Regions from separate parts of the Homo sapiens genome. Here region 1 is linked to region 2. Evidence: promoter capture Hi-C in human tissues and cell types (Jung and others, 2019). All regions are on one chromosome and are shown on one strand. Each heading gives the region's core, a stretch centred on a gene start or on the middle of the fragment in contact. The rest is flanking DNA. Distances are from core to core; before and after follow the strand shown.

What was found. Contacts are between HindIII fragments. The study calls those that stand out against the background at their distance.
Region 1: a fragment that was not itself captured here is called in contact with the fragment with the promoter of DYNC2H1 in region 2 in 1 of the 25 tissues and cell types used here (H1 embryonic stem cells).

Annotation. Positions count from the first base shown.
Region 1 is chr11:103,156,051-103,163,236 of GRCh38, reverse strand. It overlaps DYNC2H1 (dynein cytoplasmic 2 heavy chain 1), which reads right to left. Exons shown (of 89, transcript NM_001377.3): 26 at 6,467-6,849; 27 at 4,428-4,560; 28 at 4,210-4,327; 29 at 2,193-2,305; 30 at 90-209. Among named protein-coding and RNA genes, the nearest start is that of DYNC2H1, 50 kb to the right of the region's middle. The HindIII fragment of the contact is 3,379 bases long and covers 2,135-5,513 here.
Region 2 is chr11:103,107,342-103,114,032 of GRCh38, reverse strand. DYNC2H1 (dynein cytoplasmic 2 heavy chain 1) reads right to left here and starts at 4,607. Exons shown (of 89, transcript NM_001377.3): 1 at 4,264-4,607; 2 at 326-496. The coding sequence starts at 4,458. RefSeq lists enhancers at 4,775-4,824, 4,895-5,014. The HindIII fragment of the contact is 3,230 bases long and covers 2,680-5,909 here.

The sequences.
Region 1 (7,186 bases), core at 2,575-5,074, 50 kb before region 2:
GATGCGATTTATCTGAGCCTCCTGGCTTCTAGGTCAGGGATCTTTCCACGTTCCATGCCTATGTAGCTTCTACACGTAAGCCCCCTTACCTGTGAAGGGAACAGAGATGGGTCAACTGCACCTTGAGAACTTCGCCCAGTAGTAACACATTCCTTCAACAACTGTTCCAAAGTTTTCTTCATTTCTAAGGCCAAATCATTCAACCATGTCTGAAAAAGAAATTGGAAAATAATATAAACAAGACATAAAATAAACTGGAAAATAATATATATAAGACATAAAATAAATATACAATCTACTAACTCTATACTGTTATTTCAAGACGGGGTATTATACTTTCCTATTGATCATTACACTCCTAAAATGTGTTATAGGAATATAATTCTTTATTTTCTTAATAAACAGTTTAAATAATTTGAATAAAACAATTTTTTCACCTCTTAGGATAATGATGAGTGTGAAAACATAAATTTGTGGCTAACACTACCATGACTATATCTATACAAGCCAATATAATATGAGCATTTAAAAGTCGACCCATTCACTTCATCATTATGATGAATCAAACCAGATAGTTTGGCCAATAAATCAGGGTCAAAATGGCTGGCTAAGTTCCTGGCTCATGCCATCCTGATGATCTTATATTCATAAAGTCGTAACCATAGGAAGGGATTGCTTCATCAGGATGAAATGTATTATTTGGGGGCTTAGATTGCTTCATCCAACAAAACTAATTTTGTTTCAAAGTGAAAAAAAATGTATTTTTCCACTCACTTGATTATATATAAAATAATAAAAAGTTAAAATAACAATGATTGATAAACAATGAATATTTATGAATCACTTCTTAACCTTAAAAATATATCATTTGTAATAAAAAGGCAAAAGCTGCAATCTTAGCCTCTCATCATTGCGTACTTAAATAACTCTGTGTTCCAGCTTTTTTTTTCAATCTGTAGAGCATTCTCCAGTATTGAAAATAGCATCAAAATTCACTGAAGCTAGAGTGAGAATCTGCCTCTCAGTGCATGGCAACAGACACATCTACTCTGCTAACAATCATAAAGCTTCCAGAGTTTCAACTTTTCCTTTGCTGGTATACCTGCTCTAGCCCAGTTGCTAAAATTTAAGCTCTGTCCCTCTGTGTATATCCAACAAAACTACAAGAGAGGAAAAAAAACAAAACTCTTAACCAAATATGATTAGCAAATCTCCCAGGTTTTCAATCAACTGATTTATGTACTCAATATCCAATAAAATGTTGCAACCTAACCAGGAATAAACATTTTGCTAGGCTGTATGGACATGCACATGGTAAGGCATGGGCCCTGGCTTCCAGGTGGAAGATAATTTGAAATTGAAAAGTTACAATTCCATGTGATGCAATCTATTGCTAGTTAGTTTTAGCTATATGCCTATAATAGGCCTTTGATCAGTTTACTTCCAGTCCTGCAGAACCAGTTAATCAATAGTTGTTCGCTTACTTGTTCACCCAAATCATCTTATACAAATTCATATTTTAAAGAGTAAAGACAACTAAAATGTATTGAGTACCATGTTCCAAGCACTAAATAGTGTACTTAAAGCCAATTATCTCATTTAATTTTTAATTGAAAGTCTTTGCAACAGTTACAGGTTGAACATCCCTAATCCGAAAATCCAAAATCCAAAATCCTCCAAAATCTAAAACTTTTTGAGGTTGACATGATGCTCAAAGGAAACACTTATTGGAGCATTTTGGATTTTCACATTAGGGATGCTGAACTGACATAATGCAAATAGTCCAAAATCTAACAAAATCTGAAATCTGAAACACTTCTGGTCCCAAATACTTTGGATAAGACATACTCCACCTGTACTGAGATTACCATTTTACTGATTAGAAAAACAACACTGTAAGTCACATAGCTATTAAGTTGTGGAGCTAAGATTAATATCTAAGATTTTTTACTCCAAGGCCAAGGTTCTTTTCATAATTACAGGCTGCCTTCCAAAGACTACAAATCCATATTCTTTTTAATATCAAAATACTCCGAAACTAACAAAACAAATCATTTTTAAGATATGAGCTGAGTTTCCTAAAATACCTAAATTAACCAACTTTACCCTCTAAATTGACTAAATTATTTTAGACACAAAGTTCATATATAGTTAATTCTTTTTGTTTTCATATTTGAAAAAGAATTGCTTACCTCTACATTATTTGATAGAGGAACTTTATTTTTAAAAGGTACAACTTCTCCCTCTAAAGATTTCATTGCAGTTATATGTTTTGATTTCTCATCAAAGCAAACACTGTTAATACCTGAAATATAAAAGCAATGATTGAATTGCAAAAGGATTAAAGACATAATTATTAGATACAATATGTGTCACATAGTGTTAATATATACCCTAAAACATATATAATAATCAAATTATAATGTATACCACATAATATATAGTGCTCCTAGTGTTTAAATGTCCTATTGAGGGAAAAAAATCACTTTCTGAATCAATATTCTTATCACTCATCTGAAATATTTCTTATCAATATCTATCTATATGTGACAGGATTCACTGGTGAAATTTGTGAATGTTTATTTAGATATTTCTATATATGTTTGTTTATTCATTCCTACCATTTTCCAGAATAAAAAATTTAGGCAACCTAATCAACTACTACGTACCAATCAGTAAGAATTGTCCTAACTCACATTCTTGGGGGAGTGAAAAATGTTATAACCTCTTTGGAAAATGATTTGGCAGTTTCTAAAAAAGTTAAACATATATTTACTATATGACTTAGCAATTCCAAAACTAGGTGTTTATCCAATACAAATAAAAATGTATGTCTACAAAAAGACTTGTATGATTGTTTACAACAGCTTTATTCGTAATAGCCAAAAACTGGAAATAACCCAAATGCCCATGAACAGGTAAATGTGTTGAAGGCAAATAAGACTTCCCTTTCCCCCAAATTTGCATATTACTTTATAGTATATAAAAAACTTGAATATATTATGTCATTTTGATCTTCACAAAAAAACTATATTATTATTTGCAATATAAAGAAAAAACTAAATTTCAGAGAGGTAACTTGATAACCAATTAATAAACAATAGAGAAATTGGTTGAATAAAAGGGTTCTGATTGCAAGAGTTTGTTTTCTACTACTTCCCATTGCCCAAATCATAGTTACAAATATAAGCATCCTAAAGCTTCAGATACACAGGAATTGATGAATATTTCTGTACAGGACCAGAGAGTAAATATTTTAAGTCTAATGGACCATATGGTCAGTGTCAACTACTCAACTCTGCATTCATAGCATGAAAGGTATAGACAACAATACATAAACTACCGTGCAGGATTATGTTTCAACAAAACTTTACTTAAAAACAACAAGTAGTGAGCCAGATTTTGGCCCATGGGTTATATTTTGCTGATCCTTGATTATTAGTTAAAATGATGAAAATTATTTTACTTCATAAATTTAATTTGAAAAATACAGCTCTTTTCTATAGAGCTGTTTGCTCTATAGAAGAAGTCATTTGCTTGCGCTTTCCAAGTAAATTAAGTATTTTAAGAAAATAATAGTCATTATTTTGGTAATAAACCTATTCCATTTGCCACTAATAAGTATCCCATTAAAGTGACTCTACAACATCAAAGCATTTGACATTACAGTTTTCCCCCAAGTAATCTCACCTGTTCCCATAGCTTACTATTATTTCTATATGGATGACTCCTACATTCTCACCTAGGTCTCTTCACTGACAATAACTGCCTATGGAGTATCTCCACCTGTATGTCATTCAGGACACCTTAAACTCTATAAGGAAGAGGCATATTCTCCTTCACTACAGGCCTTTGCACAGCCTATACCCACTGCCTGCCTGCCTTTTTCTAACTAAGGCCTATACATTCTTCAGATATCGCCCTAGATGTCACTTACTTCATGATGCCCTAAAACTGAGCTAAATGCCCTCACAGATGGACCTATAGCACCACATACTTATGTCAATCACCAGAATTGTCACACTGTATTATATTTGTCAACTTACAACCTTGTCTCTCCCATTAAACTGTACATTCTTTGGGTACAGGAACTGTATTTGGGTATATGAACTGACTGCTGTATTCAGTAGTCTACCTAAGAGCATAATATTAGGCCTGGCAGACAGTTGAAACTCAATAAATATCTGTTAAATAAATGTTGAATCCTACCAGCAAAAAGCTTCTTCAGGTGAGACTGAATCACTGATGGGTTGGTAGACTGGCCCAATATTTCTAATAAGTCATCATCACCAATAAAATAAAATCTTGGGAATGCTGAGCGTTTTTCCTAATAAAAATAGAAACAAAAAATAGCTTTCTTTTTTTCAGATAATTAAGATATCAAGTACTTTACAATTTATTATATATTTTTTTCTTAAAAAACATGCCTCCAAAAATTCATTTAATGATTTCTGACATCTTTGAAGCTGATCAAGTATTGTTAGTAGAGAATTTCTTATTCCAGCATGAGTAGTTAATGTTGTGACTCTATTGTCTTTCTTGATATCAGTCATTATTGATCTACAAAAGAAAAAAAAGTATCTTCACATCTACTTTAACAATTTGGGGGGGTAAGAAAAACAGATTAAGACTTTTTTTACCTGCTTAAAATGAACTAAAGGTAACACTATTATAACAGTATTACACCTCTAGGAATGTTAAATATTAATATCACACTATCATTTTTAACTTCTTATATTTTAAATTATCTTATATATTTCATTTGCTAAGCTAATTTTTTTATTTTTTGAGATGGAGTCTCGCTCTGTCTCCCAGGCTGGAGTGCAGTGGCGCAATCTCTGCTCACTGCAAACTCCGCCTCCTGGGTTCCTGACATTCACCTGCCTCAGCCTCCCAAGTAGCTGGGAATACAGGCACCCGCCACCGCGCCTAGCTAATTTTTTTGTATATTTTAGTAGAGACGGGGTTTCACCGTGTTAGCCACGATGGTCTCGATCTCCTGACCTCGTGATCCGCCCGCCTCGGCCTCCCAAAGTGCTGGGATTACAGGCGTGAGCCACCATGCCCAGCCTTGCTAAGCTAATTTTAAGCCCTACCTCATAGAGCTAATGGTCCAGTGACAGCAAAAGACATCAAATAATTTCTAGAAATATTTAAATAAAATTGTGATAAATGTTAAAAAGGAAAAGTAAAGTATTGTTAAAATGGCTAACAGGGCAACCCATAACCTAGGACTTCTTTAAGGAAGTAATTTAAATTGATATGCAGATGAAGAATAAAATGAAAAAGTGAGTGAGTAGAAGACGTTTCTGGCAAAGATTCTGGGAAGAAGATAGGTATGACCGAGAAACTAAAAGCTAGAGTCACTAAAGCAAAATGGAGAGCAGCACAAGAAAAGGATAGAGAAATGAACAAGGAGCAGATCATGCTTTATCCCTAGCACAATGGGAAACTATTTTAAAGTTTTATTTACAGGAGTAAAAGAAAGTGCTGAACCTGCATTTTTAAACAATTACTCTGGCTGTTGTGTGAAAAACTTATATTATACAAGAGCAAGTCAGAAGGTTAATGTGCGTAGTCCAAGTAAGAGATACAGAACATTAGAATAGAAGTACAGATATACTTCTGTACAGGTATTTGGCTCAAGATATACTAAGCAGGTTAGAATCAACAAAATTTGGCAACTTAATGTATGTAAAAGTGGAGGAAGAGGGAGATATCAAAGTTATCCATCATGTCTCTGCTTTCAGCAATTAGGTTGGGCCATTTATTGAAATAGGAATCAGAAAGAAGAAAGATTTGTTGGAAAGGAACTGGTAAATTAAGCTCATGGATTCAGTTTTAGCCTACTATTTGAGCATGTTTGGTAGATTTGGAGCTCAGAAGAGAAATATGGGCTGTACATGTAAGTTGAGGAGACCTCAGCATATAAAAGAGAACTGATGCTGGCAGTGGTTAAGATTACCTGAGAATACAGTGAGAAAAAAATCGAAGGCTGAGGCCTGGAGAATGACTACATCTAAAGATTTGGAGACAGCTAAGGACTAGGAACTATGTGTTGAACTAGAGAGACAGTCAGAAAACCAAGAGAGGACGAAATCACAGAAGCCAATGGAAGAGACTTTCTAAGAAAGAAGAAATGCTCAACTCTATTAAATACTAATGAGAGATAAAGTAAAATAAAAATTGAAAATGCCTTTTGAATTTAAAAGAGAAAGTAATTAGTGATTTTATGAAGTATGTATTATTAGGTAGAGTGGTAATAACAGAGACCACACCATAATGGTTCAAGAAGTAAATGCTTGAATGAGAGAATAGCTTCTCAAAAGGATCCACTAGGAAAGAATTTGAATACACAGAGGATACCAATCATGTAAAAGTAATTTGCCTGTATTAAGCACTTCACAATATGAATTAATTTAAAAAAAATACCATATGTGTCTATGTCTTACATCATTGTACTGACCTAAAATCTTCATCAACTCTGTTGAAGCGTGTCTGTTCTTTTGGCAATGCTCCACGGCCGAAAATGGGTTCCAAATACACCCACTTTCTCTGAATATGATTTAAATTCTGCAGGTATTCATCTAACTCTGCAAGTTTTCTTTCCCAAATTGATACTTTATCTTCAAATCCTTTATAATAAGGAGAATCCTTTAAGGATTGGAGAAGGCATCTATTATCTCCAACCTGATTTACTATATCTTTCCAGTCTTTAATCAGCTTCATAGTTCGACTTTGGCTGTCTTCATAATCAATTAATGTAAACACTGCTCCAACTCCCCAAAGATCAAGTTCACGTAAAGCTTCTCTGATTGTAACTTCACCTTGTGCCCGACTATTTAAATCCTATTTAACACAAAATATCCATGTTTATTACTTCAACATTAATTTTCACATAAGTAATTAATAGAAAAGTATTTTATGAAAAATATATTTTATCTGGCTTTTCACCATAAGGCAAAAAAAAAAAAGTTAAGTGGCTCTATTTTACATGCAACTCAAGAAAATTACTGGTTATTTTATCAAAGCATGTAAGATACTAAGTATCCTGGTTCACATGGTCAAAATATATACAAAGTTCTGCCTTATGCTTTTTACCTCTCTAAAAGAAAAGCAAAAAATTAAAGCATCCATCACAAAAGACAAAACTAGTTTGGTTTATTTAAAGTTTTACAGACCAAAA
Region 2 (6,691 bases), core at 3,358-5,857:
CTGTCCAAAACCCCATTTTTCTTAAAGCCTGCCACTACCTCCACTTCATAAGAAGAATAAAAAGTCCTCTCAACAGTTAAAACTATGAAAAGCATTTAATGTAGAAATGTTGAGTTGATGTGGATTGCATTTTATACCTTTCTCCAATTTCTCTATTTTTTACCACAACTTACATTAAAATTTAAGTTAAAAAAAGTTAAGAAAAGATATTTTAATTAAAATTAAAACACTACTAACATTAACAGTAAAAAATAGATATTTATGTTTATATGAAAACATTTATCCAAATACCTCAGTTAAAAAAAATGACAGCTTCTTTTCTCACCTTTAACAACATTGGTGCGAATACTTGCCGTACTGCTTGGTAAAGAGAACTAATAGGTGACTCTAACATAGATGAAACAAGAATGTTATCATGTAGATTCTCATCAGTAATTACTTCAGGTCGCAGCTTGAAAAACACCAGCACTTTATCTTTTGTGTCACCAAACTCAATCTAAAGTGATAAATGATTTTTAATGTTATCTTCATAAAATTTAATATTTGAAAAAAATGTAGACAAAGTTCTATCACTATAATTATACCTCTTGGAAAAAAATAGTTACTTTAAAAATAAATATATTAAAACCAATTTATCTCTTCTTTCCTTAAGAATACTTCAGTTTAAAAACTTATTCCCACTTACATTAGATCATAAAGTCACTTTGATAAGTTATTTATAAACATAAAACAATATATACGTTGTTGACTGCTAACTATTCCATTCCAGTCAGATTCCATTCCAGCCAGATTCCATTCCAGCCAGAGTCCATTCTAGCCAGAATCAGTAATAGTACAGATGAAAGCTGTAGGCTCCAGGTACACAATGAGTAGTGTGCTTCTCTAGTAACCCAGAAAGTCTATAACAAAATGTAATTAATTACCCTCTTACTTAGAAAAAGCATTTTAAAAGGTGCTTTTAAAATTATACATGCACTCAAAACTACCAAAATGAACTTAAGTTGTCTATCTCCTGAAATTAACTTTATCTTAACTGAAAATTTTTCCTTAAAGAGTTAAGAGCATAAAACTTTGTTAAATTGTCATATAGCTAGATTATTTTAAATCGGAACCAGATGAACTCAATTGGAATTCACTACAGCAATCTTGTTTAAAATAGGTCAGTTCATAGTAATGAGTTCATTAGCTGAGAACTATACTAGTCAAAGGAAGTTTTTGCATTATACACACATTCTCAGTTATTCTCATTTCTTTTTTCAGGAAAAGAAGTCTACACATTAAAAAGCTTTCAGACAAGGTCACTGCTGTGTAGGAAGAACAGCTATGGGTCTCATGCCACTTATTTCTATCCAAATAATTACATTTTTGGCCACTGGAAAGGAGCTGAAACTTTGTTACTGCTCAAATGCTTATAACATTTCATGACACATGAAAAGTATATGAAATCCACATGTCAGTGTCCATAAAGTTTTATTAGAACATAGCCATTCCCATTCAATTACATGTATTATTACAAAGTATTACATGTCTGCTTTCACACTACAAAGGCCAAGTTGTAGCTGCTAATGGAGCCCTTGTTGCCTGCAATATTATCTGACCCGTTACAGAAAACTTTTTGCCAACCTCTGTCCTAAAGCATAAACCAGATCACAGCTCTCTCTTGCTTAAGATTACCAATAACTTCCTATTTCAATTTAAATGGTATACAGTGTCCTAAATGATCAGCCTGTGCCTTATTCTCCTTTCTCATCTACCACAATGTTCCTTCATACCATAAACTCCAGCAATCACTCTGGATTTTTTTTCTTGCCCCTGGAAACTAAGTTAAAACCCAGCTCAGGGCCTTGGTACTTACAGTTTCTTTTGCTTAGAACACTCTTCCCCCAGGTTATGCCTGCCTGCAACTCATCATTCAAATCTCGCTTCAAAGATAACTAATCCAGAGAGGGATTATCTCCCACCCTATATATCTTTAGTTCCCCACGCTGCCCCATCACTACTATAACATTATTTTTATCTTAACGGCACTTATCAATACCCAAAATTATGTTACATATATCTGTAGCATGCGTTTAGCCTACCTTTGTCCATTCCAATGTTACTCCTTTAAGATACGGACTCTGTGTTCATGGCTTTGTCCCCAGTACTAGTAGGTAGGCAATAAATATTTGCTGACTTATTAACTTATTGAATCACGCTAACTATCAGGCAACTAAAGTACAACTGAAGACATAACAAAATATTTTCAAATATGACTAAAAACCTGTAGCGAAGTGTACAACTAAAAATAACAGATACATCGTTGGGCTTTACTAGTAATAGCTTTAACTTAAAAAAAAAAAGTTCTACCTTCAACTTTCAAATACCCAAGCCAAGATACACTTTCACGAATCCAAACCCCTTTCCATCTTTCCTACTGCATTCTATCCGAACTTTCAGTGGCATTTACAACAGTGTGTCCTGATTTTATCATTTGCTGAGTATATGTCATCCTAAGCCACTGGAGTGAGTCTAGGAAAGGCAGAAAGCAGGGGGCTCTATCCTGAACTACGCTACCTATTGGAGAAAAAGAAAAGTTAACATTTAGGTTGTAAATTTTGTCCCTTACTTTCCTCAGCCATAAAATAAGAAAAAGAATAGTTCCTATCTTACAATGTCGTTATGGCTATTAAATGAACGAATACATATAAAGTACTTAGAACAGTGCTTGACAGAGTCTAAAGTGAAAATAAATGTTAGCTATGATTATCCATCCTTTTTATATCTTTGTAAACCCATCATGCCTGGCAAAGTGCCTTGCATGTACTGAGTTCAAAGTAAATGTTTATTAAATACAATCGAATTAAACCTAAGAATAAAGATAGTGAATAGGGTGAATGATTCAATCATCCTATAAAAATGCACTGAAGCCAGGCACGGTGGCACACACCTGTAATCCCAGCACTTTGGGAGGCCAAGGCGGGTGGATCACCTGAGGTCAGGAGTTCGAGACCAGCCTGACCAACATGGTGAAACCCCATTTCTACTAATTGCAAAAAATTAGCTGGGTGTGGTGGCACATGCCCTGTAATCCCAGCTACTTGGGAGGCTGTGGCAGGAGAATCGCTTGAACCCGGGAGGCAGAGGTTGCAGTGAGCCAAGATTGTGCCATTGCACTCCAGCCTGGGTAATACGAGCGAAACTGCGAACTGCGTCTAAAAAAAAAAAAAAAGGCACTGAATGTTTTTGCTGAGTGTCAAAAACTCTGCTAGACCTAGGGATAAGGGTGAACACCAAAGGAAGAGGTTTAAAATATGTCTTTGTTTTATTAACTTAAATCTATTTACTGAGTCCCCTTTAATGTGTCAGGCAATTTTCTTCTGTGTTTTTCTTTTAGGCTTATATATATAAGCCCTGATTGCAAATGCAACCCATTTTTTAAGCAATCCTGCCAGTGGAGGGAGCAGTGCAATTAATAAATCAGTATATCACATGATGTACACCAAAAAAGAATTCAAACTTTATTTTGAAATATATCATTTCACAAAAATTTAAATTCCTAACTAATCTTTCCCTTGGGCAATGTTAAAATCAGAGCCTGATCCAAAAAAGATAGACTAGAATTTGCCTTCCCCCCAAAAAAAAAACTCAAAAAGGGGAGAGAAAAAAATAAAAATAACTAAGTAAATGTTTTCTTTTTAGTTATAACGTATCTGCAGTCTTTCTTAAAAAGTAGAATATAGGCCGGGCGCGGTGGCTCATGCTTGCAATCCCAGCACTTTGGGAGGCCGGATCACTTGAGGTCAGGAGATGGAGACCCACATGGCCAACGTGGTGAAACCCCCGTCTCTACTGAAAATACAAAAATTAGCCAGGCGTGGCGGCGCGCGCCTGCTACTCGGGAGGCTGAGGCACGAGAATCGCTTGAACTCAGGAGGTGGAGGACGCAGTGAGCAGAGATCGCGCCACTACACTCCATCCAGCCTAAGCGACAGAACGAAACTCCGTATAAAAATTTAAAATAAAACACAATCTAATTGCTTCTATTCAGATGTATGGAAGGGAAACATGCTTCGGTCAGGTAGGATGCAAAGCTTGGAAACTACCTGCTTAAGCACGAGGCCAACGCATCTAAGCCAATAATGCAGGAGAAGTGGAGACAGCCTTGGGTTCCTGAAAAGGATCTGGTTGGTAAAGCTAAAGAGTGTGACCCGACGTCCCTCTGGCTGGGCCTGGGGACTTGAAGAGTGGTCAGGGGTCAGGCAGGAGTGCAAGGAACCGTACCGTGTTGGAAAAGGAGATTCCTGCGTCGGATCGCTGCACCCTGAGGAGCATCTGGTTGCCGTCATCCAAGAAGTTGTTGATTTCAAGACAGTTGCACAACAGTGGCTGATCCCAGAGTTCAGACATCAACCCGAAGTAATTCTGGGTAGTAGTGAAGATGAAGAGCTTCCGAACGTCCGCAGTCCCGTTCGCCATGATTGGAAGGGGTGGAGGGAAGTTGGGGGAAGGGGGAAGGAAGAAGAAACCAGTCCGGAGGGAAGTGAAGGGAAGAGAGGAGCTTTGCTCAAACCCGTAGCCCGACCGCGGGACCGCAGAGCTTCGCGGTTGCCAGGGGTAGTCGCTATGGCGACGGAGCACTACGGCGGCGTCGCTGGCGGCGCGCGGTGGGCGTTGCCCTCTCGGGGCACGCGCACGCAAAGCTCGCGGAGGCTATCGACCGCCTCGGAGCTCTTCAGCGGCTCCCTGCGGTCATCGATTGTAAGGGGTTCGGACAAGTTTATGTTGGCTCTCAAACATGTCTTTTATTCTTCTTACTGATTTCTTATCACGCATAATCAGAAGAGAGACATCTAGCCTTCAAGTACAGCAGCGTGATCTAGATTTAGGAGAGCTGGGTTCCAGTGCTCGCTCTCCACGTGCACCTGGTAGCAAACCAGTCTGTCAGCGTCAAGGTACACATCTGTTAAGAAGGGGAAATACTATCTCACAACCAGGGGTGTAGTGCGGATTGTAAAAGATTACTATTTAAAAATCGCTTTTTAGAGAAGCTTATAAAGACTAGGAATTCAATACAATGTTAATTTACTTTCTCAGTCGCCCTCTGCTCCTTTCTGTGCTGCTGCATTTCCCAACATCGTTTTTTCTATTATTAATTTTAGAATAATTTAACCAGCAATTTTTTATTGCAATCATTACCCGAGCACAACCATATTTGTAAAATAGCTAAAATGTAAAATGATACTTTTTAGTTTATTTTATAACAACCGCAACCAAATTCTGTGAAAATACAGATATGAAAACGGTCTTTGTCATTTTCTACTTCATGGCATTACTATAAACTACTAAATTGCTGGTCATTCATCCGAACATTCGTCAAACACTTTCTCAATTCAGTAATTCTCTTCTAAAAATATTTACTACATGCTATTAGGTTGGTGCAAACGTAATTGCGGTTTTTTGGCAAGAACTGTAATTACTTTTGCACCAATCTAACACAATTTGCCAAGTACCGAACTAGGCCCTGGGGACACAGTTCCTGCCCTCAGGAAGTTTTTGCTGTAGTCATTCATCACCTCAGCACTGGTTTGACCCAAGATCCTAGGGTACACAAACATATGCAGATTTTTTTTGTTTGCACTTAATAATCATAACCTCCCCTTAAAACTATACTATTTGAGAATTGGAAGGAGAGAGTCCTTTTATTTGCTGAGCAACTTAAGATTTTGGAGTGGGAACTTAAAAAAGCTGAACTGCTCTAAATTATAAAAGGAAATGAATGTAAATTCTCATGAAATATCCAAACAGTGAGAGATGGGAGTCTGGCCACTGGATGGGAAAACATCCAAACAGTGAGGTGGGATGCTGACCACTGGGTGAGGGAAAAAATCCTAACAGGAACCCAAGATGACTGTGTAGCTAATAAAAAGATTTTGAAAGCCAAAGTGACCACTATGGTTACAGAGTTTCCTGCTCTGCAATGAGCATTATCACTCTTACCAAGGTCTTCAGGAAAGTCTCCATTACCCACAAGTGCTCGGTTTGGTGAGTTGTTTTGGTGGAAATGTATGAAATGGCTGAATTGAGCTTCCATAACAATATGGTAAATAAAAAGGCAACACATGTAGGAAGATGAGTCTAGAAAGCAGATGAGATCATGAGTATGTGATCCTCCCAAGAATTTTTAGAACTCTTCAGGAAACTTAGGGCTTCCACAAACTATGAAATTGTGTTTGAATCAAGTTTAACACCGATCTCAAACATGGAAGCTCCCGTTGACATGTAAACCCCATGAAATAGAAGTTTTGTGTTTCCTTTTCACTACTATATACGAAAAATGAGGCACAGAGTGGGAAGAAAAGACAGATACGGACTTTATGTATTGTATCAAGCATACAATAAAGAAGAAAGAACCTCACAGATTAAATAACTTACACAAAAACACAGAGATGGTAAGTGGTAGAACCAAGATTCCTACCAAAATCCAATTCTGAGCCAATCTCTATATACCATATCACAGTGTTAGCCAGATATCCACCAAAATCTATTTTTCCCTTCCATAGCTAAGAAGTGGCTACCATCCAGGTGTGGTCATGTGACTAATTCTCACCAATAAAATGTGAGAAGAAGTAATGTGTGCGTCTTCAAGGCAAAGTTTTAAAGAAGTGAGAATACCTTAACTTTTGCCAGCTGGTTGCAGATAACAATAAAG